Regions from separate parts of the Homo sapiens genome. Here all the other regions are linked to region 1. Evidence: promoter capture Hi-C in human tissues and cell types (Jung and others, 2019). All regions are on one chromosome and are shown on one strand. The core of a region is centred on a gene start or on the middle of the fragment in contact, and the rest is flanking DNA. Distances in the headings are between cores, read along the strand shown. Region 1 holds the start of SMIM2 (small integral membrane protein 2). Region 2 holds the start of MIR8079 (microRNA 8079). Region 3 overlaps LINC00390 (long intergenic non-protein coding RNA 390). Region 4 has its middle 8.0 kb from the start of SMIM2-AS1.

Evidence for each region. The method cuts DNA at HindIII sites, captures the fragments that hold promoters and counts their contacts. A contact is called where the count stands out against the background at its distance.
Region 2: a fragment that was not itself captured here is called in contact with the fragment with the promoter of SMIM2 in region 1 in 1 of the 25 tissues and cell types used here (bladder).
Region 3: a contact is called between a fragment that was not itself captured here and the fragment with the promoter of SMIM2 in region 1, in 2 of the 25 tissues and cell types used here (spleen and thymus).
Region 4: a fragment that was not itself captured here is called in contact with the fragment with the promoter of SMIM2 in region 1 in 1 of the 25 tissues and cell types used here (aorta).

The regions. Positions count from the first base shown.
Region 1 is chr13:44,157,798-44,164,438 of GRCh38, reverse strand. SMIM2 (small integral membrane protein 2) reads left to right here and starts at 3,182. Exons shown (of 3, transcript NR_197392.1): 1 at 3,182-3,294; 2 at 3,508-3,836. It overlaps SMIM2-IT1 (SMIM2 intronic transcript 1), which reads left to right and starts at 6,217. Exons shown (of 3, transcript NR_046843.1): 1 at 6,217-6,417. RefSeq lists an enhancer at 4,051-5,250. The HindIII fragment of the contact is 7,742 bases long and covers 1-6,059 here.
Region 2 is chr13:44,196,138-44,202,688 of GRCh38, reverse strand. MIR8079 (microRNA 8079) reads left to right here and starts at 6,489; the gene lies at 6,489-6,551. The HindIII fragment of the contact is 9,857 bases long and covers 1-6,551 here.
Region 3 is chr13:44,116,837-44,123,159 of GRCh38, reverse strand. The region is part of intron 2 of LINC00390 (long intergenic non-protein coding RNA 390); the gene reads left to right. All of the region lies in intron 1 of SMIM2-AS1 (SMIM2 antisense RNA 1), which reads right to left. Among named protein-coding and RNA genes, the nearest start is that of SMIM2-AS1, 9.4 kb to the right of the region's middle. The HindIII fragment of the contact is 5,829 bases long and covers 1,998-6,323 here.
Region 4 is chr13:44,099,157-44,105,886 of GRCh38, reverse strand. No RefSeq gene overlaps it. Among named protein-coding and RNA genes, the nearest start is that of SMIM2-AS1, 8.0 kb to the left of the region's middle. The HindIII fragment of the contact is 4,418 bases long and covers 2,859-6,730 here.

The sequences.
Region 1 (6,641 bases), core at 1,933-4,432:
GGAATATTCCTGATTTTAACACTGAAAGTCTTGTGTCCCAGAAATCTCCTCAGTCCTGAGTAAGCCAGGATCATTGGTCACCGTAGGTCTAACACACATGTAGATTTGTAATTACAGACAGAAAGAAAGACCCTTCTTTGTATGAGTAGGTGGTTTGGGGAGGAGGGAAGGAGGAGGAGAATTTGGCTTCATATGGATAGGTAGGTGTAGGGGTGATGGGGGTGTTTCACACAAAATAACCTCATATTTTCTTTACTGGGTAGATACAAGGTCATCTGCAGAGAGGAAGGTGGGCCGATGGTAGAAGAATTGTCACTTAACAAATCCTACTTCTTAATACATTCTTTTAAAACAACTCAACAACAACTTGGGTGCATTTATATGCTTTGCATGAATGTATTCTGCCATTTCTGTGAGGAAGCAAATTATTACGAATAACTACAAAAATGAAATGGTTATATATTTATTTTTTCAAAAACAAAAGGCAAATTCCAAAGGTATAATCTAAGATGAGGCATCATGATCACAGAGGTGCCTGTTCCCATTACTGCCATGCTTTAATCCACTTGCCCTCAACTGTCTACCATCCTCCGGCTCCCCATCCCTCACATCCTAAATAACACACCTAGCTTAAGTAACAATTACTCACTTAAAAGTGGGAAAATATGGTCAGTATTGAGGGAGTGTAGCACCAAAATCTGTATCAGTCAAGGTTCTCCAGAGAAAGTGAACCAATAGGATATGTATGTATGTATGTATGTATGTATGCATCTACTATCTACCATCTGTCTATCTATCTATCTATCTATCTATCTATCTATCTATCTATCTAAGAAGGGATTTATTATAGAAATTGGCTCATGCAATTATGGAGTGACAATATGCCACCTGCAAGCTGGAGACCCAAGAAAGCTGATAGTGTAATTCAGTCCAAGACCAAAGGCCTGAGAACCAGCGGGGGAATGCTGCTGGTGTAAACCCTGGAGTCTGAAGGCCTGAGGACAAGGAGCTCTGATGTCCGAGGGCAGAAGATGGATGTCCCAGCTGCGGAAGAGTGGAATCTGAATTGTGGCCCTCAAAGACCCACTGGAGGGCAGACACTGGCAGGCTGTGGGAGAAGCTGAGGATAGGGTGAGTGAAACTCCACACGTGACCTTGGACAAGTGCCTAAACTTTCTGTGCCTCTGTGTGTACATCTGCAAAGTGAAGTGGTGGACTTTGTGAGCCCCAAGGTTCCTCATGCATTCTAGAATTGCAGCACTTTCTGAGGGATTGTAAGAGGAAAGAAGCAGTTACAGAAACACAATTTTGAAATGCTAGGTCTTTGGTATTTGAAGCCAAGGAAATGGCTAGGGGTCTCTGAAAAAAAAATAGTATTATGAATAAGATGGAACCAGACAGCACCCTAAAAGTTTGTGACAAAGGAAGTCTCAATCCTCACATCAGAAGCAAACTTCTCACTGTATACCTTTACATTTTATAAAACATGGTCACATGGAACAATAGCTTGCAGACTGGGAAGCACTTGAACATAATAGTGTTTCATTTGATCCTCGTACACTCTTGGGAGATAGAAAGCATTATTTTTACTCTCTCTATTTTATGAACAAAGAAAATCAGTTTCCAAGTAGTTAAGGTCACAGAGCTGAGTATTGGGCTCTGTTCTTATGGATTTCTGTACCCTCCATAGAGAATGGGGTCAGTGGGGTCTTATCCTTGAGCAGCCGTGTCAGAAGTGGGAGCCCTGGGCATAGAGCCTTAGGGACTTATGGAACATACTGTGTCCTCACTAGGCTGGAGCAGGGACTATGGTTGTGGATGCCATAATTGGTCTGCTTTGGAAAGGGCTTCCTTTATCTCCACCAAAGAGATATCACCAAAGATCTGGGGGCAGCTTGGCCAGTCTATGTGCTGACTCTCTGCTGGAGCTGTCTCCTAATCAGGTCACTGCTAGAGTTCCTCTTCCTAAATGTCCCAGTGCCATGACTTTGGTGCTCTAGCTTGTGGGATTGAATCAATCTAAGAGTCCAGAGTCTATGAGGACTCCTTCTTCTCTATTGTATGCTGCTGTCTGAAGCTAAATGCTATTGTACAAGTTTTGTTGCTGTTTAGATTTTTTTTTGTTCCCAGATTATTGTTCCAAAAATAGACCTACGATATATTCTTATACATTTGAATTTAATTAAGAACCTTTTTCTCAATGACATAAATATGGTTTTACTATTTCCAGCCAGGCCAGACAAAGATGCCTGAAGACAGATTTCTAAATGATGCTATGTGCCAATTTCTCTGATCTTTTTAATATTGTAACTAAGGGGCCTTGCTCTGAGATGGTGGTTTACGATTTTGACATGCTGTCCTGTACCACTCTCTGATCACAAGGGAATACGTAGAAACTCACCAAAGCAACTGCTGTCAGTCATCAAAGTGGAGCCACATTGTCCCTTCTAACCTCATAAGGATCCTTATGGGATTCAGGATGATCACATTTTCAGTGCTCTAAGGACTGTCTCCGTATGACCCCAGCCATACCATGCCCATTACTGATGTATTTGACCTGTTGAGCCTCCAACAGCATTGCAGACTCCACTTTTTGTGTTCCAACAGGACTAAGGCCAGAAGCGAATGTCCTATTTTTTCCTGCCATTTCTCTGCTGAGCAACAGTTCACCCTTGAAGCTGCTGCTGCCTAAAGAACAGGAGAAGATTCAGGAATGCTAACAATAGTTACCTACATATCGCATGCCCTCTGCCCTTGCCCATTGTAAGAGCCTCACCACTTGGATCAGTAAGAGTCCACACTTGCTCAGTACATCTTGGTGCTCACTTCAGCTGTGGGCTCTGATTTAAACATCCAGCTCAGGGGATGCCTCTTTGGTGCATGTCATAATCAGGAGAAGAATGCTGGCTTTGGATTCTGGAACTGACTCCATTTGTAGTGAAGAGTTTGGAGAGCATCAATAATGGGATGGCAACATTCATTCATTCATTTATACCTCTAACCAGTCTTTCCTCACATACTGGTTGAGTACTCAATACGTGCCCTGTGCTTAGCTGAGTACTGTTCAATGGTGAACAAAGAAGACATGGTCTTAACTAGAAGTTCCTATTTCAACAGAGTAGCCCAAGGAACTTCAACCACTTTTGCTACAGGTGTATTAGTTACTGCCAAGAGTCTGTAAGTGTTCATGGGCCTCATTAAGCTCTGCCTTCCTTCTGCTTTTTGGAGCCTGGCCTTTGGTTGGCCTTGAATGAAGAGTGGGGCCCCAAAAGTACCACTGTCAGCACTCTCCAGGTGAGTATTATCCTGGGAGAGGCCAGGGCATGAGGAGGGCCAGGGCGTGGGGCCCTCTGAAGGCTGTGTCATCCCAGGCTTCAGCCACAGAGGTTTTATTACGGAGGAAAGCTGAGCTGTGAGCACGTTGCTAGGCTGTGGCTATTTATTTTTATAAACGAGCCTTGTGCTTAATTTAGAAACCTGCTTTTTCTTTTTCTTTCTTCTTTCCAGCATCATCTGGCTGTCTGGCACCATCAAAGAATTGCATTTCTGACCCAAGAAGAGCTTATGGGTGGATGGGGGTGGGATGGAAGCTGGGGAGAGGATTGATGCCAGCCAGCTGCCTCACAGGGTGCTGGAAACACGTGGCCATGCCATTAGCATCCTGTTCGGCTTCTGGACGAGTTTCATCTGTGACACCTACATAGTCCTCGCTTGGATCAGCAAGATAAAAGGCAGCCCTGATGTTAGTGCCTCCTCTGATGAGCCATACGCCAGAATCCAGCAGAGCAGAAGGCAATGCCACGCAGAAGAGGACCAAAGTCAGGTGCCAGAAGCAGGTGACATCTCCACTCTCAGTTCTTTGGAGGCAGCTATTTTAATAGAACCACTTTACTGCAGCTATTTTGACATGAGGATATTTTGGTATGGCTCAAAGATTCAGCCGATAAATGTTCAGCTTTTTAAAAAATAAATGATGAGTAAAATAGGCATCTTGCAGGCCATCTGTGAGCTTCACCTCAACCTTGATCTTCACCTCCCCCCCTCCATTGTCAATCTTACCTCCAGGCATCAAGGGTGTATGGATTGGTAACAGATGAAGGAAAGGACTGGTAGAGGTTCAAAATGAAAGAAATAGCAGGTCAGGACTCCAGGAGGGTTGAGGGTCTTTTAAAGTAAAACAAAACAAACAAACAAACAAAAAAACAGGGTCAACCAAATTCAGAAGTCAGGTAGAAGTCAGAGAAGGAATGAAAGATGGGAAACTGGTTATAAACCAAATACAGCGAGTCTGAATTTTGGCTTGTTTTGAGGCTGCTGTATCAAAACAGTTGTGTTGGAAGAGCTGCATGAAATTGTTGGGCAAGAAATAGTCCACTCATGATTCAGATAAGCTCATTTTGCCTCTTCCATGGTCGATTTCTGACTCATAAATGTCTATACATTTCACTTTACGGCTTATGTGAGCCTCAGTTTCCCCACATAAAATGCAGATGATGATGTTGGCCCTTCCTCTTTCCCCACCTTTTGCTCTCCTTCCAAGTGGCATGATGAGGAATGAGCCAGCATCTTGTAAACTGCTCCAGGCCACCTGGAGAAATGTGCTTGCGTAAATAGTCGGCATTAGTATACGTGAGTCTTCCATGAGTAAAGAATTTCAGAGTTGGCAGCCGTCTCTGCCTGGTGATTCATGTGGGCACGATGATGCCCTTAGCTACAATGTATGGTGTGGGTGATGAATTTGTTCTTGTCACAGCAGAGGACTGAGTATTCTTTACCCAAATGCTATAGATTGAGTTTGCACATGGGAACTAGATTAGCTCTGAAGAGAGTTGAAAGGAACCTGACATTTCTGCCTACAATCTAGAGTTTCATTGTACAAACAACCGCAGCAGCACATTTGTGCCCAACCATTGGCTCCCTTTGCCAGCAAAGAAAATCTTCTAAATTCTTCTGCCATTTGTCAAACCTGCCAAAGTCCCTGGAGGCAGTTCTGGTATAATTGAAGGTGGAGAAAGATAATATTCTCTCTACCAGGTTTCACTACTTCCTGTGTTGGTTGTTCACAAGGGGAGAGCTTCTGCATCACAGGATGAAGCTTCGGTGATTTAGATGTGGAATATCCTTCCAGGATTAGGGCAAGGAGGCCCCAGCTTCCAGAACCCTGTCCTGCAGCCTCCGCGTGGCTGGGCAGCGGCCTTCCTTTGAGCCTTCAGGGTGGAAACGAAGGACACGTGCGTCTCTGCAGCACTTCCGGCTTTCGCTCAATCCTATTTTCAGAGCCAAAGCGCCATCTCCTCTGGTACAGTTAATCTTTGTTCCTGCCACTGACCCTTCTATCTTTATTACTTTTCACCACGTCCTGGCCTTCAGATTTCTTATGGATTTGTCTCTCAGGCGTTGTGTTTTGATTCCCTCCTCACATTTACTTCCAAGTGCCAAGAACAACTTTGTTCCGGCAGAAGGATATTATTTGGCTTAAAAAGAAGAATGAGCAGTGGCTTCTCTCCATCAGCATTCTTTAGGTTTACGTGGGAATTCATTCTGGGAACCATTTAGAGTCTCCTTCAAGCCTCTCCCTGACCGACAAAGTTTCTGTCCCAGAGAGTTACTTTGCTTCCATTGTTTCTAAGTGGATGATAAGAACCTTTCTTTCTGAGCCTGTGTAGAAGGACTCAACACCCCTCCCCTCAATACTCCCCAGAGTATCCATTGGCTGGGCCCACAATGGATACACCCTGAGTATTGTTACCATTGTTATAGACTTCAGCATCAACTCCAGTATTTGGTGGTCCAATAAACCTTGAGTCCTCTTCAAGAATTGTTAGTTTTTCCCACCTTTGAGAACCACACTCACCCTTTAAGGCAGCTCTTCCTAAGTGACTGACAAACACTCCCTGGTTGAGCTGGTGGGGGCAGGTCCAGCCAACAATGGCTTCTCTGTTGACATCACACAGGCCTTAATGACACAGACTAGTCACAACAGCTGGTGCCCTCATGAGTGCCTATTAATATTTTGGGTAAGTTGTATTGCCCCATCCACCACTCTGTATAGTGATTCTGGAATTTGCTATTTGATACAAGCAAACGAAGAGATGGAAGGGGCTGTTCACCACTCAGTCTGCAAGCAAGCCTGTCGTGCCCATCTGCCAAGAGGAGTCCTTGTGTGCCTCCAAAATGGCCTGGTCCTTAACTTGATCTGCTTGGACTGATTGCAAACAGTGGCTTAGCTTCCTCTAGACCAGAGGACATTCTGTGCTCCCAAAACAGAATGCTACACATGGGAACAAGGGAAAGGGAGGCTTTGAGAGGTCAGCCAGCAAGGCCCCTGCTTCAAGCCTAAAACCAACGTAATTAGGTGAAGATTGAGCAGGATAAGGCTTTGCAAGGAACATCCCTGCCACGTCAAGGTGATCCCAGGTACGTGAATTGGCTCCTTTTGAGTCTTCCTACAACTCTTGGAGGCAAATAGGGCGGGTATTATTACTCTAGTTCTACCAAGGGAGAAACTAAGTTCTAGAAGTCAACTAAGGAAGTTATGTAACTTACTGGCGGACAGGACACAAGAAACCTCAAATTCCTGACATCTGTTCCAGTTTTTCCCATCACCCCATGTTGCCCTTCAGCAGGGCTTAAGCAAAACA
Region 2 (6,551 bases), core at 3,168-5,667, 37 kb before region 1:
TTCATCCATGTCCCTACAAAGAACATGAACTCATCATTTTTTATGGCTGCATAGTATTTCATGGTGTATATGTGCCACATTTTCTTAATCCAGTGTATGGTTGTTGGACATTTGGGTTGGTTCCAAGTCTTTGCTATTGTGAGTAGTGCTGCAATAAACATACGTGTGCATGTGTCTTTATAGCAGCATGATTTATATTCCTTTGGGCATATACCCAGTAATGGGATGACTGGGTCAAATGATATTTCCCAAATTATTTTCAAAAGGCATATACTGTTTGTATAATCATGATACAGCAAATCTGTTTTTAAAGGATCAAGAAAATTATACCTAGAGGATCAAGGTAACTTCAAGGAGATGAAGTGAAGCAAGAAAACTCAGTGTCACTTAGGAAAGTGGCCTTGAGGATGTGGAAATTGATTCGGCATCTAAGAATATTGTTAGGGATGGGCCTAGCCAGCTTGAAAAATATCGTCACCTTACTGTTCTGTGTTTGAATGCAGTGACTCTGCATTCAAAATGAGAACATGAGATAGGTATTTTGTAAACAATAACATGTAATGAAAATGTTGGTATAATTATTAAAAGTGGCCTCTCCATGGAGCTGAGGTAGGATTTAAGGGCTGCTCTGAAACTGATGAGCAAGTTGGATTGTGAACCAGATCCCCAGCCCTCAGTTTATGCTCACCCTTTGGCCGTCCTTGGGTGTCACGCTGAGATGCCACGTAGTGTGGTACCAGAAGCAAAGATTTGGGCAATGTTTAAAACATGGGCTCAAATTCTGATGGACCCATTTGCTACCTTAGAAAACCTGGGCAGATTGCTATAATTCCCCATGGTGCTTCATTCACTTAAAATTGAAGAAAATAATGATTCTCATGTTACAGGAGTGTTCTGAGGATCCAGTGACACAGGGCATGTGGAAGGGCTTTGTCAGTGCACATCTGCAAAGCTCAGCTATGATTATCAGAGAGGCAGTATCCATAGTAGGAAGAGCATGGGTGCTCCAGTTAGAAGCCAGAGTGGCCGCTTTGTAGTCACATGAACTAGATAAGTTACTTAAACTCTAAACTTTTGTTTTCTTGTCTGTAAAATAAATATAACAGCTTCCTCATAGTGTCTTCCATGAAAACCAAGTGAGATAGTGAGGGAGAGAAGAAAACTCACATTTATTGAGTACCTGCTTTGTGTCAGGCACAAACTAGGTGCTCTTCTATGACAGTAAGCAAACAAATATAAGGCATATTTTCCCCCAAAGTATCCTTTGATATAGACAGCTTTGCCTTACACTCAGGTCCTTACAATGTTTCTTATATTATGGGATGTTCTCTGTTATTCTATTTTATATTTTTCAGTTTTATTTGAGACAGGGTCTTGCTCTGTTGCCCAGGTTGGAGTGCAGTGGTGTGTTCATGGCTCCCTGCAACTTTGGCCTTCTGGGCTCAAGCGATCCTCCTGCTTCAGACTTCAGGGTAGCTGGGACTGCAGGTGCACACCACCACGCCCAGCTGATTTTTAAATTTTTTGTAGAGACGAGTTCTCACTGTATTAGCCAGGCTGATCTCGAACTCCTGGGCTCAAGTGATCCTCTCACTTTGGCCTCCCAAATTGCTGGGATTATAGGTGTGAGCCACTGCGCCCAGCCAATTATTTTAATTTGGAACAACAAAGTACCATTTGGGGAAGGCATACGAGAACAAAATGACTCAATGGTGCTGATTTTGGACACATGGAGGTAATCAGGTGGGACCTGTAAAACAGGAGGCCTAAGCACCAAATCAGAAGCAACACTCCAGGGTGGTGAGCCAGCCCATGAGGAGCCTGATCATGAACCAGAATCTGCAGGGGCGTTATTTAGCATTCCCCACATCTTCAGTGAAATCACTTCTTTGGTAATATGAATATTGTCAAGACTGGGAGTAGTTAGAAATATTGCTTTGCTCTCCTTTATGAACAAGGCACAATAAGGTGGTAAACCTAGAACCACAGTCAGCCCATGACCCTCTGTCCCTTCCTTCACAGAGGACCCTCTTGCCTGATCCCACCCAGAACTGTCCAGTGCTGTCCTAGAACTATCACGACATCTGCCCCAGCTGGAGTCTTCAATGCATGGTGCTTGCTGGAGTGGCTAGGCCAGAGTGGGTCTTCCCCAAACTGCCGAACAAGTTGAATGAGTGTATTTGTGCTTCCTTGCCAATATGCATCTATATGTCATATGGAGTTCAATTAGACATTTTTGAGGTCATAGGGAAGGGATTTATAGTTCCCCAGAAGTCTCTAACCTCAAGAGGTTAATAGTAGTTGTAAAAAGAACCTGAAATTTTCTGAAAGGCTGAATTTGCTTAAGTCAGAAAGCAGCACTGTCTGTTTCTCCCCCAAGACTATAAACTCCTTTAAAGGTAGGGATCATGATATTTTAGCTTCTTTCAAATGCCTAGTATTTGTACTAGCTTTGTACAAAAGTAAATATAGGAAGCAGATATGTTTACTGACTAAAAGTGTGGGATTTGGAATAAAATTTCCTATGTTCTAACCCTGGCTTTTGCATACAGTGAGAGACTTTGGGGAACTTACTTAAGCTCACTATGCCTCAGTTTCCTCCTCTGTAGAATGTGAGTGGTAACAACAGTACCCACTTCATAGAGTCATTGTGGATATTAATAGATATGTAGAGCTCAGAACAGCATGTGACCTTCAATAAAGGTTAGTTATTCTCAATAAGTAGGTGTAAAATGTTTGTTATGTAAATGAATAGTAGTAATATAGAGTTCTGGCAATTGCTCAAGAGCTCTGTTCGGGCCAGCTATTATTGTGCAATTAGTTGCCATAAATCTGTTACCACTTCCAAGATATGTATCCCTGTCAAGAAATCCACCTGCACCTCACACTAAGCCACCGCTGGCAGGGTTGGAAGGAATCTGCACAGCCAGCCTCTCTGTCTCTGGTTCCTGCTTCTCACAAGACAGCAGAATGCTTTCTGGGAAGGCCACCAGGAATCCAATCCCAACTCATTCATAATGGGTCCTATTTTTTCCTCACCAAGTGACCTCCCCACCAGGATGTTGGTGATGACAATGGGTAGACATTCTTCTTTGCTCCATTGCATCTCATTACTTAACTCTCCTCCTTCCCCAGCTATGCTAAGTGATGCCCAGAATGTGAACCTGAATTTGGTTTCTGTCAACTCTTGGAAGAGGCTTTTCACATTAGAACTGGGTTTGGCAATGCTTCTGTGGTTAGGCTAACATGTGGTGTGCTTGTATAGTTTGCAGCATCATATGGGTTTGTACACGTCCAGAAGCACCAGCACATGCACACAGGATCCACATGGAGTGGTGTACATACCCTATTGCACGTACACACGTTCACACCCCTTCTCTTCTTCACACAGTGTTCAGACTTATCCTGAAAAGACCTGACATAGCGACCAAGGTGTGGGGCCTTGGAGCGCAATCCACTTTAATTCATTCATCCTGTTGCTTCACACTGTTTTGAAGACCCAGGGCCCCTACCCTGATGTTTATTCTCTTCCTGTCACCCACTTGGCTCCCATCCTTTCCTCCTCCACCCCTGGGGAGGTTCTGCCCTGCGGTACAAGGCTGGGGTGTGTGTGTGTGTGCTCAGTGTGATGACTCGCTCTAAATGCAGCCTTCAGGCCCTTTGTGTCCCACCAGGAGGGTGTCAGGGCATGGTCCTCCCATGCTGACAGTCCACCCATTAGCCCTGGGCTGTGATGGTGAGGATAGGTATAGGGGAAGGAACATTCCAGACTTGAGGGCTGAGATTCTATCTTCTCAGGGCTGACTTCTTTACTCTGGTTGCTGCTTGTCTTAGGAGACCGTGCCCCTAAAACCCCTAAGCATTTAGAGGCTGCTGCCTCCCATATCCTGGAAATAGTCCAGCTTGTTAGGCAAATCCCTGAGATGGCTGGTGTTGCATGCCGAGAGAGCAAATAGAAGCATGGTCTCCATGAGGAGGAGGAAAGGTATCTCCTCCTTGTCTAAGATGGTGACAACATGGCCTTCACACACAGAGGAGGCAATTTAACAGTTGGTGTCTATGGCTACTTCAGTGTGTCTCTATAAATAGAGAGCTTTCCAGAAAAACCTTCCTAGTGAATTTTCTTATCAGTCCCTTAAATAGTGTTGACTGAGAGGGAGAAGCAAGGCTATATTAGCTTTTCACCAGTAAGTGAAAGGCATGGCTGATAAATGAGGCAAGGGAGATGTTAGTGAGGTTGAGTAGGTGAACTCTCCACCAGAGAGCAATGAGGGATATTGTTTAAGAGCTGTGGACTCTTTCATCTTGCATGTATATTTTTCCCCAACTAATTATGCACTGGCTTTGGCAAAGAGAATGGATAATTCAGGTAAGACATGTTTGTATTCTGGTTGTCAAGGAGACAGGGAATCCATTTGCTTAGCTTAATGCACAGGTACACTTAGTAAGCACACCCAGCATTTAGATTTCTGGACTTTTACCAAATCTCTACATCTCTGCCCCAAATCTATCTTGAGTTTAGTCATTGTGGCATATTCTCTTCATGTTTCTCTTATCTCTATCACTCCCTCAGCCTATGAAACTGCTGACATAAAATGAAATCCTTTGTGGTGAGAGAGTTTCAGCCAGCAGGAGACTCTGCCCAATGTTGGCAAGCCCCTAGAATGACAGACAGCAAAGAGAACATCTACAGCTCAGCTCCCAGCACCCTTTCCTCAGCCCACAGATCAGCTGGTTCAAAGGACAAGTGACTTACATGGAGTGATGTGGTTGTAAAAGGCTGGAGGGAAAGGGGCTTGGAGCCAGAGGGGAACATGCTGGACTTGAGGGCAAGAAGGCTGAATCATAGATGTTGTTTGGATAAGACAACATTGAGTGTTGTCAAATGCAGGTCAGAAAGTGACAAATGTGGAATTCTGACTAGGAAGGGAGAGAGGATGAGATGTGAGGAAACATGGCAGCAAAGTGTCTTGGATCCAGGTGCTGAGATGACAAGGTTTGCCTGGCAGGATGGTGGGAAAAGTTATGGGACCAGCTAGGTGAGCCTGGCCAGCTGTTCTGTTTCTCCTGGGATCTCTTGTGGAGACTGTTTTGCTTCAGTCAATGGGTAAACTACTACAGAGCCATAACTAGACTCCTTGTGAGTGTTCCCCAGGCCTCATTAGCCTTAGACCCAAGTGAGACGGACGACTGCAGACCAGATTTTGCTTGCCCAGCTGCATGCCCCTGTGGGACTTTGGTCCTCCCTTCACAATACGAGCCCCTCCCCGCCCCAGTATCTCTGAGAGTTCCAAGGCTCTGTCTCCTGTGCTCAGTGGTCAGCTCGGCTGTATAGCCACTGCATCCTAACTTTGTGGTCTGCTCTTTTAAAGGGTCTCACACGAAGTTGCTTGGACTACAGAAGTTTTGTGGATCAGGTTTGAGTTACATGTAATCCTTTCTCTTCAGGACACACTCAGCCATCACCAAAATGGATAGTTAGGAGGAAGCCCAACAAAAGCCACACCTCTCTCTCTCCCATTATCTTCCTTCTCTGGGATCCAACCTCCTTAAGGAGACACACCATTTTCATTTCTTCCAGTTGGCCTTCTTTTGTCTTCTCCTCCCCCATTACAGTTCACCAGTTGAGGAGGCACGTTCAGCAAATATATTGTTGCAGATGAATAAATCAACAAATACAGATATATTCTGAAAATTTGGCATAAATGAGAGGAGCAGATGAAGCGTCAGGCACAGAAAGCCCCCCAGGAGAGGTAAGTCGGGTCAGACGGAGAAGGCTCTGAGGGCTGATGTTATTGGAGATGGGGAAGGTAGATGACCTAGGTGCTTCCATAGCAACCTGGGCTTTCCTCTGAATCACCTGCCATAGTGATGGGACTTTGTTATTGCTCTTTCAGCTGTCTTGCACTAATCTAGGAGCATCAGAGACTGAAGTTTTAATCTCTGTATTCCCAGAACCCAGCTCATTTCCTGATATGGGACAGGTGTTCAAAACACAGAAGAATAGCTCAGGAAAAGATCTGGAGGCAACACAGGCAAATCACAGGCCAGGGGCAGTCAACAACGCTGCTTGGTTTAGAGTGATAGATACATGTAGGGAAATGACAGTTAGCCTTGAGTGCTGAGATTTTACTCAACAATGAGTCAGAAGCCAAAATCAATCCTGGAGTGTGGATCTGACAACAGGGCTTGAGAATTAATTTTTAGGTGTTGTATGTGTTGTGGGGCACAGGGAGGGAGACAGGAAAAAAGAGGCTGTGGGTTGAGGAACCCACCAATGAGGTGCTGCAGGAAGTCAGTGTGAGACAAGGGAGGTCAGGGCTGGAGGGGTACTTAGGGGACTAAAAGGGAGGAGCAGAGGGTAGGGTGAATGAGCAGGAATGAAAGCTGGATTGTATGAAAGACTCAGAGAGTGGGTTTACTCACTTGCTCCTTCACCTTTCATTCATGCATCCACACCTGCCTTCTTCAGCATTGGGCTGTGCAAGTGCCTGGGTTCAGTGATCGTCTCTGCTGGCTGTAGGGCAGCAGTCAGAGGGGACATCACAGGC
Region 3 (6,323 bases), core at 3,663-6,162, 43 kb after region 1:
GCACACCAACATGGCACATTTATACATATGTAACAAACCTGCACCTTGTGCCATGTACCCTAAAACTTAAAATATAATAAAAAAAAAGAAAAACAAACAAAAAAAAACTGTAGAAAAAAAAAAAAGATGATGTTTTCCATTTTGGACCTGTTAAGAATAATGCATTTATGGGACACGAATGGAAATAGTAGGTGCTCAATGAATATTAACTTCTTTCCCATCAAATAAGTTTCCCTTTTCTTCTGTGTTTAGGAAAGACAGAAGCTTAATTTGTAATTTTCTCCAGTTTAAATTCATAGGTTAGAGACCAATGTTTCTATTACTATTCCTCTCAGTAATAAAAAATATATAACACTGATTTTCAGATTATCAAAATTTTAAAGCCGTAATTAGGAACTAATGGAACAGATACTCCTATTTTTTCCAGGTCACCTGATGTCAACATTCTTGGGAATTTTTTTTTTAAAGAATACTTAAGAGATATCATTTCAGATTGTAAAGCTCATGTTTTTTACTGCCAGAAACCCAGATTTTAAATACCAGCTCTGTTAGCATGCTATAAAATTTTGGGCAGAATACTTTCAACAAATGGGCTAATAATAATTACCTTTCATAAATGTAATTAGAATGAAATAAAATCATATAAAATGCCAGACATAGTAAATGTGCCATAAAGGCTAGTTATTACCATAGGCCCTTACCTTCAATTATTACCTTATTAATTCTATATTTCATAGAGTAGTCTACACCAGCACTATCTAATAGGAATATAGTGCAGGCCACATACGTAATTTTAAATTTCTAGTAGCCATATTAAAAAAGTAAAAAGAAATAGGTCGAATTGATTTTAATGATATATTGAATTTAATCCAGTATATACAAAATATTATCTTGTTAACATGTAATCAATATAGTTACTAATAAGATATTTTGCATTTTTTTCCATTTGGCTCTGGCTCATGTGCCACTGTGACCCAGCAGCCATATATTAGGCTATTCTGTTTGGAATAGGTTTGGGATGAGGCAGAGAATAAATATGCATAATTGCATACCCTTATGGCAACCACAAATTGGGTAAGACAAGAACTAATGATGCTTGGAAGAAATGAAAATATATGAAATTATTACCTTTTTTCTGCCATATCTAATGGCAAATAGAAATTTTTTGGTGAAAAAATAGAAACAAATTTTTACTGGGCATCAACTATATGCTACATGCTATACATGTGAAGCCTATATTTGCGTCGAGGAACAAGGAAGCTGGAATCCTCAGACTCCAGTTACTGTCGCTATAGTTAGGACTTCCTTGAGACTTAGAATTTTAAGTCCTAAAGAGCGTCCCAGGGAATAGACAAGCATTGTGTCTAATTTATATTCTATTCCATGCTCTTCAGCCAGGAACATTATAACTCCATGTTTTCTCACTCTCCAAGGGGATGATCCAGGCCCTCAAATTATGGGGAATATGGAGAAGTAAGCATGGAGAATGTGTGTGGCCTTGAATGAAATGGGGATCAATTCATAAGCTGCATCTTTCATGCTCAGTGACTGGAGTGGGACACAGGCTGGCAATCAGGAGGCTGGCCAATAGCAAAGAATTCCACATCACCAGACTCCGTCCTTCCCACTCCTGATACTTTTGACATCTCCAGAGCGGTAGGCAATTCAGCCCTGCCATGTGTATCTTAGGTCAAAGGGAAAAAAACACAGAGCCTCAATGTGCGATTCCCAGCCTGAAAGGAACTAAGTGTCTTCTGATACACAACACTTGAGATTTTTTTTTTTTTTTTTAAATGAAGGCATTAAACTGACCTTCTTTTGAAATGGGCTAGACAGGGCAAACAAGGAGAGATCTTGTTTTTCCTTCATCCTGGAAAAATAACATTTCTCGCTTTCCAGCTCAGTACAGTTGACTGAATTGGAAAAGAATCTATTTTCTCTGGAAAGATTTATTTGCCCAACAGTTGTGTTTTTGTATATGTGTGTGTGTTGGCAAGATAGATAGATTTTCCAGAACAAGGGTCGTCTTGTTCACGGTTTAAAGGGGCCTAAGAGTTGACAAGGGAATTTAATGTTAGAGAAGGCTTTTGCAGACTTCAGCGTTATGTACAGATTCAGAAGCATCCTAAGTTGCCCTGGGCGCTAGGACAGGGAGGTGGTGGTGCTGAGGCAGTGACTGTGTGGCACTGCCCCACTTGCCAGAGAGCAGAGAGAAACATCTCTATCTCTTCACCTTTCTGAGTACAGTCTCAAGGCATGGGACCATCGGGATCTGTCAGGAAGCATCTATGTTTCTATTTTTCATATATAAAAATTGTTCCCAAAAAAAGTAAAATGATTTTTTAATAAAGCCATGTGGAAAAGCTAACAGTAGAATTTTCTCCTCTCCCTACAACCAGATTTCTTTTCCCACCTGGGGACACATGTTTTGGAATCAAGCAAAGAACAACATGTAAAGCCCTCTGTGGCTGAATTAGAGAAAACACTAATAGATATTGTTAGGAGTCCCTGTTTTCTACCTCCTCCTTTTTTCAGCTCCATAAAAGACTAGCATCACATAGGAAATTTTAGAGCAAATATATCCTACTTTATGGAAAATGGTTTTCACTACTTTTCATTTTCTCCCATTTCATTTCAAGCATTAATATAATATAAATTAAAATGGTATGTTTTGGGATATTTTCTCGAAAACATTTGTTTGAAGGTGAATTCAATCTACTCCTTGTCATATAACACCAAAATAAAATATATCTGAAGATGAGTTTCTTTCCCTTAATTTTTTTGTTTCCAAGTCACTACTTGCTAAGCTCAACTGACAGCTTGGCTGGATTTTGCACAAATGACTTTTCACTCAGCTGGTCTTTGCCTTGCCAGGCGTGGCTGGCCAATGTAAAGGAAAGGAAAGGAAAGGAAAGGTGTTTTTCCTTTTAGCATGAGCATTAAAACTTTTACCACATTTTCCATTGCCCGGTGTCTGTTTTCAAGAAAGCACAGGCCAGCAGAAACCAGAGGAGTCTGAGATTTCTCCTTTGTAAATGTTGGATCCCAGCCTCTTAGTGCATTTAATTTAGCAAAAATCCACATAATTAAATGAAAGGAAATATTTTTGTTTGATGGCAAATGGCTTCCCTGAGGAGAAGCCGTCATCTGATGGCATCCACTCTGAAGTGTTGCTGGAAGATCTTACTGCCCCCGGCCACCATCCTTCAGGACCAGGCTGTCTGCATTCCCAGGGCTGGTAGGACTAGGGCTGAACAGCTTTCTACTTTGTAAGTGTACACTTTCATAAAGCATTTTTAACTTTTATAAAAACATTTTGATTGCGTGCCAAAGTCCATGTATTTGGCAAAACTGGAAATTTAACTAATTCCTATTGTGTTCTTTCTTCCCCCAGTAGGAAGCTGGTTGGGACTGAATCTGGGCAGAATGGCTGTCGCACTTGCTTTGAAGTTACGAGCACAGCAGTACCAGAACAATCAGCAGGCATCTCCGAAAGTTTCCAGGGCAGGGTGCGGGCATTTTCTTCTCAGTCTATTCTCCAAATATCTACCCCAGGCCTGGTGTTAAACAAATATTAATTGGAAATGCTGATCATGAGATCAAAGGAATAGAGGAAAGAAAATGGCAGCTTGCTGCACATTAGCAAAACGTAAAACAGGGCAGACTTGGACCTAATTTTCAGTTACTGAAAATTGAAAATTATTCTCGCAGGGCTCCCAGACAAGTCAAGCTTTGAGCCTGTCTCTGCCATGGTCCCTTCTCTGAGTCGTCTCCAGTGGTGCCACCTAAAGTCTGCCCCTTTGTCCTTTGATCAGTGCTCTTTCTTTCCCACCCCCATAGTGCTGAGAGCCTTCCCAGGTAACCTCTTCTCTTGCCTCACTTTCTGTCTCCTCACCTCCAGTCAGTGGCCTCAAGGGTTGGAGAAAATTAAAAACAGCTTTCACACCAAGAAGCCCACAATCTCTACAATGGAATATTAGTTAAGGGTTAATGAATCCTGCACCCTGGGTTTCTGAACAAAGGACAAGAGGCAGTTGCCTTGAGTTGTAAGAGAGAGAATTAAAATGGGATGTTGAAACTTGCTATGTAACTGTCAAGGTTGGTTAATCTCAGAGATGCATTACTTATTCCAGTTGTGGACAATCTTTATGCCATCTAAGAAAACAGACTATCTCAGCAGCTGGCTTCAGAATTTCTCCTACCTTGATGAGCCAGCCTGATGCAAAGAGTTGAGCAAAAAAGCCTAAGGAAAGTTATGGAAGGAAAAGATAGGACAAAGACAGGGTTGACTTGCTGTGCATAAAAAAAGGAAAGTGTACTATTTTTTTACTCGTGAGAATCTGGGTAGAAGAGTGGGGAGATTGTTGAACCACGTGGTACAGGCCCCAGTTGATGGAAAAAAATTATATAACATCAATTTTAAATTGTTTTAATTTGTTGGAATTGGTATCATATAAACTCCTTTATTTATCCAAGTCTTCAGCAAAGGATCTAAAGTATATATAAATTACAAAACAGAACAGATAAAGACGTGTGTGTGTGTGTGTGTGTGTGTGTGTGTGTGTAAATTAAGGGAAGGGATTGGATTTTTGACATCCAGATCCACATGTTAGAGAAAGCCCACAGTGGACAACGTGGGGATACACATATTTATACATAGATTTAATATTTCTGTGGAAAGAATTGGAACTTGACCGGCAGCATATAAAGCTACACCTTCCCTCTCCATCTAGAATCCAGGAGGAGAAAGGGGTGCAAGCATCCCTCAGATGGGAATATGAGGCAATTCATTTGAAACTCAAAGGACAGATTTTGGTTTTCTCTGAGACTTTGGTTAAATTAAGAGGACATTTAGCAGAGAAGGGGAAGGTGCCTGGGCAGCCATTTATCTGACTTGGTTTGAATCTAGTATTATTCTTGGGAAAAGAGGCTATACTAATAGAATTATTAAACTTCTGTCCAGCACTTTGACTATATTAAAAGAGAAGTTGGCTTTCTCTCACAAAAATTTATGAATCACAGACATATGGAATCACCCAAAAATGTTAATGTTAGGAACCTACATTTGGCAAGGGTCGTAGAGCTACGAATTCAGCCTCTGGAACCAACTGCATGAACTTGACCCCACTTACTTGTGTGTGGGGTCAAGTTCCTTAATCTCTCTATGTCCCAGTTTCTTCTTCTGTAAAATGAGAATAATCATAGTTTCTAGCTCACAAGGTCCTTGAGAAGATTAAGTAAATGTGCAAAAAGCATTTAGAATAGTTCTAGCACATTCAGAATCTGAATTATTACTCTCTTACCTTCCTACAAGAATCTGGGAAGGGGCCTGTATGCTAAGAAATGTAAGCACATTATCTCAATCCTCCCAACAATTAATTTTCTTAACAGTGGGGGCGTTATTAATCCTGTTTTTTTTAACTAAGACCTGAGACCAAGGAAAATAAGTAACTTGCCTAAGGTCACACAACTGGCTAGAAGCAGATGCCTTTGTAGGCCACTGGTTATGTAATTTACACAATAAAATTAGACTTACTGATTAAAGCCCACACAGGGAATAGTGCAATGTCTTTTACAGTATTTAAATAGAAAAGGAAAACCAAACAGGAAATGGCTATGCTAAGTGCATTAGCTCAGCGACATACCATTTTAAATGGGCAAGTGTGAAATGAAATGAAACGGTTACAGTTAATCTCTGAGCAGAAAGTCCACAGAGTAAGTAGTGTAATCGAGCTGACACATCTGAGGAAGCCTGCATATCTCTCAATTTGTGGTCTGTTACTGCTTGAACTTTTCAAAATAATATTAAGGGTGGATGTAGCCAACATCTCAAATATTAAATATATTTGTATTAGTTGAAAGAGAAACAACTTTTCTTCTTAAAGCTATGTTTAAAGCAAAAGTTCCTTTTTTTTTCTTAACCACTTTGAGCAAGCCTGGTTTACTGGAAGTCAGCTTCGATGTCCCCCTTGTGGTTTACAGGCTGCTGTTGGTAACAATTCTACGGGTGGGTGGGGAGGTGGGAGAGAATGCTCTTCACTGAGTACCTCCTGTTGTCACCACCGTGCTAGACATTTGGCATCCATCCTCTTTCCCAATCCCCACAGCCAACTTCTGCTGACGTGGTTTAGCACAGAGCCCTGTTCCAGGTGCATAGGAGATCTTGCTGCTGAGCAAGTGTAGAAAACAGTACATGATTAACACTGAAGGCACAGTTAGAACATGATCAGGCCAAAATCTTTTCCTCTCTTGTTTTTCTCTGGAAGAGTAGGGAGCCAGACTACATAGCCTAGAGCTTCCCAGCTCGTGTTCCCCACAGGGAT
Region 4 (6,730 bases), core at 3,818-6,317, 60 kb after region 1:
AGGGAGGCTTGAGCTTGGTTCCATGAACGAGGTTGAAGGGTGTAAGTCTCCCAGCTTCATTTCTGTCTCCTCCTCACCTGGGGAGCCATGGCCAATTCTCTTCCCAGGTCACTTGACTTCTCCATGACCATGACTTTCACCTTCTGCATTTTGGAACAATATACTCATGAATGCTAAGAAGCTTTTGTTTCTTTCTGCCTGTGCTGAGCCTGTCTACTATAAAAGAAAAATCACAATGGTTGTCATAGTTATGCTCTTTGCTTCCTGAGTGGAATAGCACCGGTTTTTATGTTACATTATACTATATTCTGGATCTCTCTTTGATGGTGGGTTATGGAGAAGGTTTGCCAATTCTTTCTTTTACAATTCTTTTTAAATAAATCCTCAGAATTAAGGCCATTTTATTATCTTCTTTTACTTTTAAATACACACACACACACACACACACACACACACATATACATAAAATGCTCACCAACTTTAAAAAAACATATTTAAACACCTGGAGTCTGCCATATAGTGGTATTGGGAAAGAATCCAGAAGAAATTGAGGCCACGGGAATATTTTAAAAGGCAGGGCTTGAACACAAATTCCTTCTGCTCCATTTGCATTGTAACCATTTAAGGTGAGGCCTTCTCAGCTCCTACCAGGACTGTTTAAGAACCTTGCACTTGCTCTCTGGCCTCTTTCCCCTGCAGTGTGTGCTGCTCAAGTATCTCAGTCATCACGTGATACGCCAGCTCAAAGTTCCCCAATAGCTCCCCACTGATAGCAGGATAAAACCCATTGTCCTGAACCAGACATTCAAAATCCTTTACTATCAGCTTCCTTCTGACTTTCCAGGCACTTGACCCCCGTCAAGTGGGTTTGCTCATTGTCTCGGTGTGCTGTGAGAGTGCTTAAATACCTTTATTTTGTGCCCTAGAGTTACGGATCTCTCTGTTTTCCCCCTTCAGAAATCATTTTCCTCTTCCTTATCTGTCCAAATCTCACCCATGTCCTTTGTGTACTGTGACTGGAAGCTCAGTCTCCACATAGATGGAGACTGCAAAGGGCTACCTGTCTTGATGAGTAGCCATTTTGTGCTCCATTTCCCTTTGCCCACAAATGGATGGATATTCCTGGGCCGCATGGTGTCCTGTTCCCCACTTTTTCTTTGACTTTCACTGGCAGCTCTACTATCTTTCCCCTGCTCTGCTCCGGCGACTTCTTAGTCCCCTTTCTTTACAAATCCAGAAGGAACTTGATAGCACAGAGGTGTTGTTTCTCTGCTATAATCTGTGTCCAAGCGCATTTGCATATAGTTTTACAATTTTGTCTCCCACATTGTGAACCTGTCCTCCAGGAAAACTTCCCTGGGCAGGCAAGGAGAGGGGGAGTACCGATGTTTCCTGCCTGTCCTGGACACATTTGAGCGCATGTAAATTGACCTACAAGCCTGTCAGGAGGTGTTTTGATCCACATTTTCAGAAAAGAGAACTGAAGCTCAGAGAGGGTTAATGACTTTCTCTGGGAGCGTTTGATACCAGATATGATGCCAAAGATGAAAAAAAAATTGTTGTGGGATGGAGCTTGTTAGAACAGGCTTCACAGCTGTGGTGGGACCTGAGCCAGGCCTTGGTCTGTTGGGCAGGAGGAGAGAGCACCATGAGTGTGAGCAGCATCACAAAGATTTCAGACTCAATGTGACAATGTGATCCTTTACGGCTTCCAGAGATTGTACCTGATTTCCTTTAAGAATGCATATTAAAGTTAATTGCTTGGTTTTGAGCATGCAAACGCTGAAATGTGCTAGAATGGTCAAAGTTCAGGGGTAAGTGAACTTTACTGCAGCATGTTGAGAACAGAATGAATGCTGACAAAGAAGCAGAGACTTTTTAATTTTAACTGCAGGTCAAAAGAGGACTCTTAACACAAGGTAGCTGAAACTGGGCAAACACACGATCCCAGATGGTTTTATACAGCATAAAAATGAATGAGCCAATGTGGGTTCATCGATGGTAACAAATGCATCACTCTGTATGTGTGTGAGGGGGTATGTGGGAACTCTCTGTACTTTCTGCTCATTTTTGCTGTGAACCTAAAACTGCTCTAAAAAATAAAGTGTATTTTAAAAGAAAATTAAATTAAATGTTTAAAAATTTTAAATGAATGAGTCTAATTACCAAAGCTACCAATTGTGGCCGGAGGGGAGGGGAGGACGCACCCTCCTCTTAGTGTTTTGGAGCATAGACTCCTTGCTCAGCTATGTGAGCTTCATCGTCTTTTATTTTTCCAGCTCACTGGGTAACGAAATGCTTACGAGCACTGAAGGCCTAAAAAAACAAGGCATGAAATATTAACAAAAGGAGGAAGAAGAAAATGAAGAGAAGGAACTGGAACACATTTTATAACCCGTATATTGAAAAATAAAAAGCTGGCTGCACATAACAGGTTGTAGAAGCATAATGATGAGGCGTCCAGGAAAAGGAGTTATACAGAACATTTTACATATAATGACCTTATGAAGTTACTTATCTCTCTAATTTTCTGTTATCTCTTCACTAAAACAGAGCTAACAATACCTGCTTCATATGGTTGTGGAAAGGATTAAATGAGATAAAGTATGTAAAATGCTTAGACCAAGAGCCTATATTCATTTTTTAAAAATATTTATTGAGTGCCTATTCTGGGCTAGATATCAAGGATTCAGTGACAAGCAAAACACATGATTCCTGATGGCCCACTGAGTTTTCAGTCTAAGGGGGAAACAGATGTCAAATAAAGAAACATAAAAATAATTATAAACTGTGGAGAGTTCAATAAAGAAAAAACTCAGAGTGATGTGAGGAAATAACAGGACCTCTGAGTAAATGATCAATAAATAGTAGTTAAAGAGACTTTTTTTTGTAACTATGACAGACTACCTTCTATTAGACCAACACTTCACAAAGAACTGGGAAAAAATGGATAATATATTTTAAAAACTACTTGAAGGATTATGAGAGCTATCAAGGCAGCAAGGGCATCAGTAGACAAAATTCCAGAGAGAAGATAAATACAAAGAAGTTAAGATCAAAATGCAGTTCTACTTTGTCCTTGAAGCATTAGCCTGCTCATAAGTGGCTGAAGATAGTTTTCACAATCTCATGAACAAAATTGGAGGTCATGGCTCAATGAGGAGAGGCACTGAGAAACACCCTAGGCTTTCAGCTGGGATCCCTCAAAGACAGCAATCTAAGCATAAAGGCAAACTAGGTATAGACCAGCTCTCACAAAAAGTAAAAGCAGCTCAGCCCAGTTGGACTAAGGTGACTTGGTTCACTTAACTGCCTGGCATTAACCTCTAGGAAGAAAGATAACATCATCCAGAACTTCAAATAATCTCTATAATTTTTCAAAGAATAAAGCCCAGCATTCTTTTTAAAAATATTCTAGAATACAAGGAGATAAGCCAAGTGACCAAAAATCATTTGGAGACAATAGAAAGAGATCCACAGGGGATCTAGATACTATATCGATCCTGGAGTTATCAGACACAGAGTTTAAATACTTTATTAAATATATGAATGAAAGTTGTTGATGAGATGGAGAATTTCAACGGAAAACTAAAATCTATAAAAAAGAATAAGAAGGAAATTCTAGAACTGAAACACAATAAATAAAATTTAAATTCAAGAAATTAATTAGGAGCAGACTGAACATAGCTGAAGAAAGAAATAATGAACTAGAATATAGGTCAGTAGAAAATATCTAGACTGAACCACAGAGAGGAAAAGAGAGTCAAACAAGATAAAAAGACAGTAAGAGATATTTAGGACATCGTAATGTCAGAAAGAGGAAAAAAGAAAGAATGGGTAGAAGCAATATTTGAATTCACAGTTATAAGAAACACTATGAATCCAATGATAGACAAATACAAATAAACTTCAGCAGCGTGCACAGTAATAAAATTGTTGAAAACCAAAGACAAAGATAAAATGTTAATAGCTAGAGGAAAAAGGACACATTATCTTTAAGAACAGTAAGGCTGACAGCTGAATTCTTAACCAAAATTATGGATGCAAAAGACAATGGTAGGTCATCCTAAACTGTAAAATATCCCTGCCAAAGTAAGATAATAAAAATACTGAAGCTGAAATTTTACTAATTTCTAATTCATTTTTTACTTTGTATATTTTTATTGTAAAATAAAAAAACACAAAGACAGAAACCACTCAAAACAAATGTATAGCTTAATAAATTATTTTAAGGCAGACACTCTTGTAACTGCCATAAAGAAATAGAACTTTTCCAGCCACTTGGAAATGTTCCTTGTGTGCTATCCTGATCACAATGCACCACCTTCCCTAGAAGCAACCTTTACACTTTTATTGTAATCTCTTTCTTGTGTTTATAGCTTTATTACCCACATATGCATCCCTAGACACTATAGTCTAGAATTGCCCATTAAAAAATGTTTGATATATAAATCTCTTTTAATCCACTGCACCTCCTTCTATTCCTTTCTTCTCCTCAGACTTTATCTGTTGAAAATCTAAGGCTGTTTGACCTATAGAATTTCCTGAAGTCTAGATTTCATTAATCTCATAATCATAGAATATAGCCCAACAAGTCCTCTGTTCTCTGTGTTTCCAGCAAAATTGTAGCTGGACCCACAGCCTTGAACACTGTATTTTCCGGAAGAATTTGTCACTAATGCCTGCTCTAAAGGAAATACACAAGGGAGTTTTTCAGGCAGAAGAAAAGTGATGCTAAATGACAGCAAAAAATTGTAGCAAAAAATGAATAGTAAAAGAAAGATAAATATGTAAGTAAATCTAAATAAATATTGACTGTATAAGCCAATACTACTAATAATAAAGGTTTTAAATTTTTAATATGTAGATTTAAAATACATGACAATGATAGCCTAAAAGGCAGAAAGAAGATAAAGTCAAAATGTTCAAATATGCTTCAATTGTACAGAAATTGATAAAAGTACAAATTTGTATTATACTTTAACCAAAGCAGAATGCATGTTGAATCTCTAACATAACCTTTGAAAGTATGTAAAAAGATTATTTATAACTGCCAAGATGTGAAAAAATGGCATAGCAAAACAAATTTGATTAACTCAAAAGAAAGTAAAGGAAAAAATGTAGAACAGATGAAACAAATTGGAAAAAATAACATAAAAAACCCCAAGGGTTTCAGCAATTATATTAAATGTAAATAATTCTTAACATTTATATTGTCAGACTGTATTAAAATGTAACAAGACCCAATAATGCAATGCTTACAAGAGAAGCATCTTGAATACAAGATACAGAAAAAAAAGTGAAATAATGGAGAGAGATACACCATACAAACCCTAACTAAAAGAAAGCTGCCATAGTTATACTAATATTAAAACAAAGTAAATTGCAAGTCAAGAAGGACCCTCTGTAAAAGTGAAAATCCACTAGGATGATCAAATAGGCTTAAATTTGTGTGTTTTATCGTGTAGCTTCAGAATGTATAAAAAAAGATACAATTAAAGCAGAAATAGGAAAATTCACAATCACAATGGAAGCTTTTAAACATATTTCTCACTGAAACTGGTAGAATAAACAAACAATGATTAAAAAAAAAAGTCAGACATAGTCCCCACCTATATTGAACTTACAATAGATTAAAGGATGAATGAATGTAAAATTGCACATTAGCTGTTTGCTCTGAAGTAAAGGAAGACAGTTTTATGACAATGAACATGGCTGGACTGAGGGAATCAAGAAAGGCCTTTCTGAGAGGGTGACACTTGATCTCAGCTCTGAAGGATGAATAATGGCTAATTAGGTGAATGGAAGAAGAAGTGTGAACCAAAGAGCATTAGACATTGGGCACATGTCATCCTCAAAGATGCTGTGGTTGGAAGTAAACATATGAGTTTGAAGAACTGGAAGGAGGTCCAAGTGACTAAAGCACAGTGGATCACAGTGTATGAAGAGAAGTAGCTCAAAGTCAAGCTGAAGACGTGGGTCAGGCCAGAACATTCAGAATTTTGTCAGTCATGTACAGATCTTGGACTTTATCCAGAAAGCAATATTACTATTGGATTTATGTTTGAAAAAGATTATTCTAGCTGTGGCATAAGAATAAATTGTAGAAGATCAGAGTTAACAGAGGAGGCTAGACAATCCAGCAGTTTTTACCAGTGATATAGTTTGGATATTTGTCCCCACCCAAATCTCATGTTGAATTGTAATCCCCAGCACTGGAGGTGGGGACCTGGTGGGAGATCATGGGGGCAGATGGATCATGGGGGCAGATCCCCCATGTCTTGGTACTGTCTTTGTAGTAGTGAGTTTTTGTGAGATCTGGTCATTTAAAAGTGTGTCACCTCCCCCGTACCTCTCTCTCTCTCCTGTTCTCACCATTTGATGTGCCTGCTCCCCTTTTGCCTTCTGCCATGATTGGATTGTTCCTGAGGCCTCCCCAGAAGCAGATGCTGCTATGTTTCCTGTAGAGCCTGCAGAACTGTGAGCTAATTAAACTTCTTTTCTTATGAATTACCCAGTCTCAGATACTTCTTTATAGCAGTGTAAGAATGACCTAACACAACCAGTGACTAGAGATGAAGGATGATAGTGATGACAGTGGAGATGGAGAGGAGTCAGAGTCAAGAGATATTTAAGGGGTAAAATCAACAGGCGTTGGTGAAGAATTCTACATGGTGGCTGAGGGCAAGGGAGTCATCAAGGATGTCTTTTTAGTTCTTTGGTTGTACAA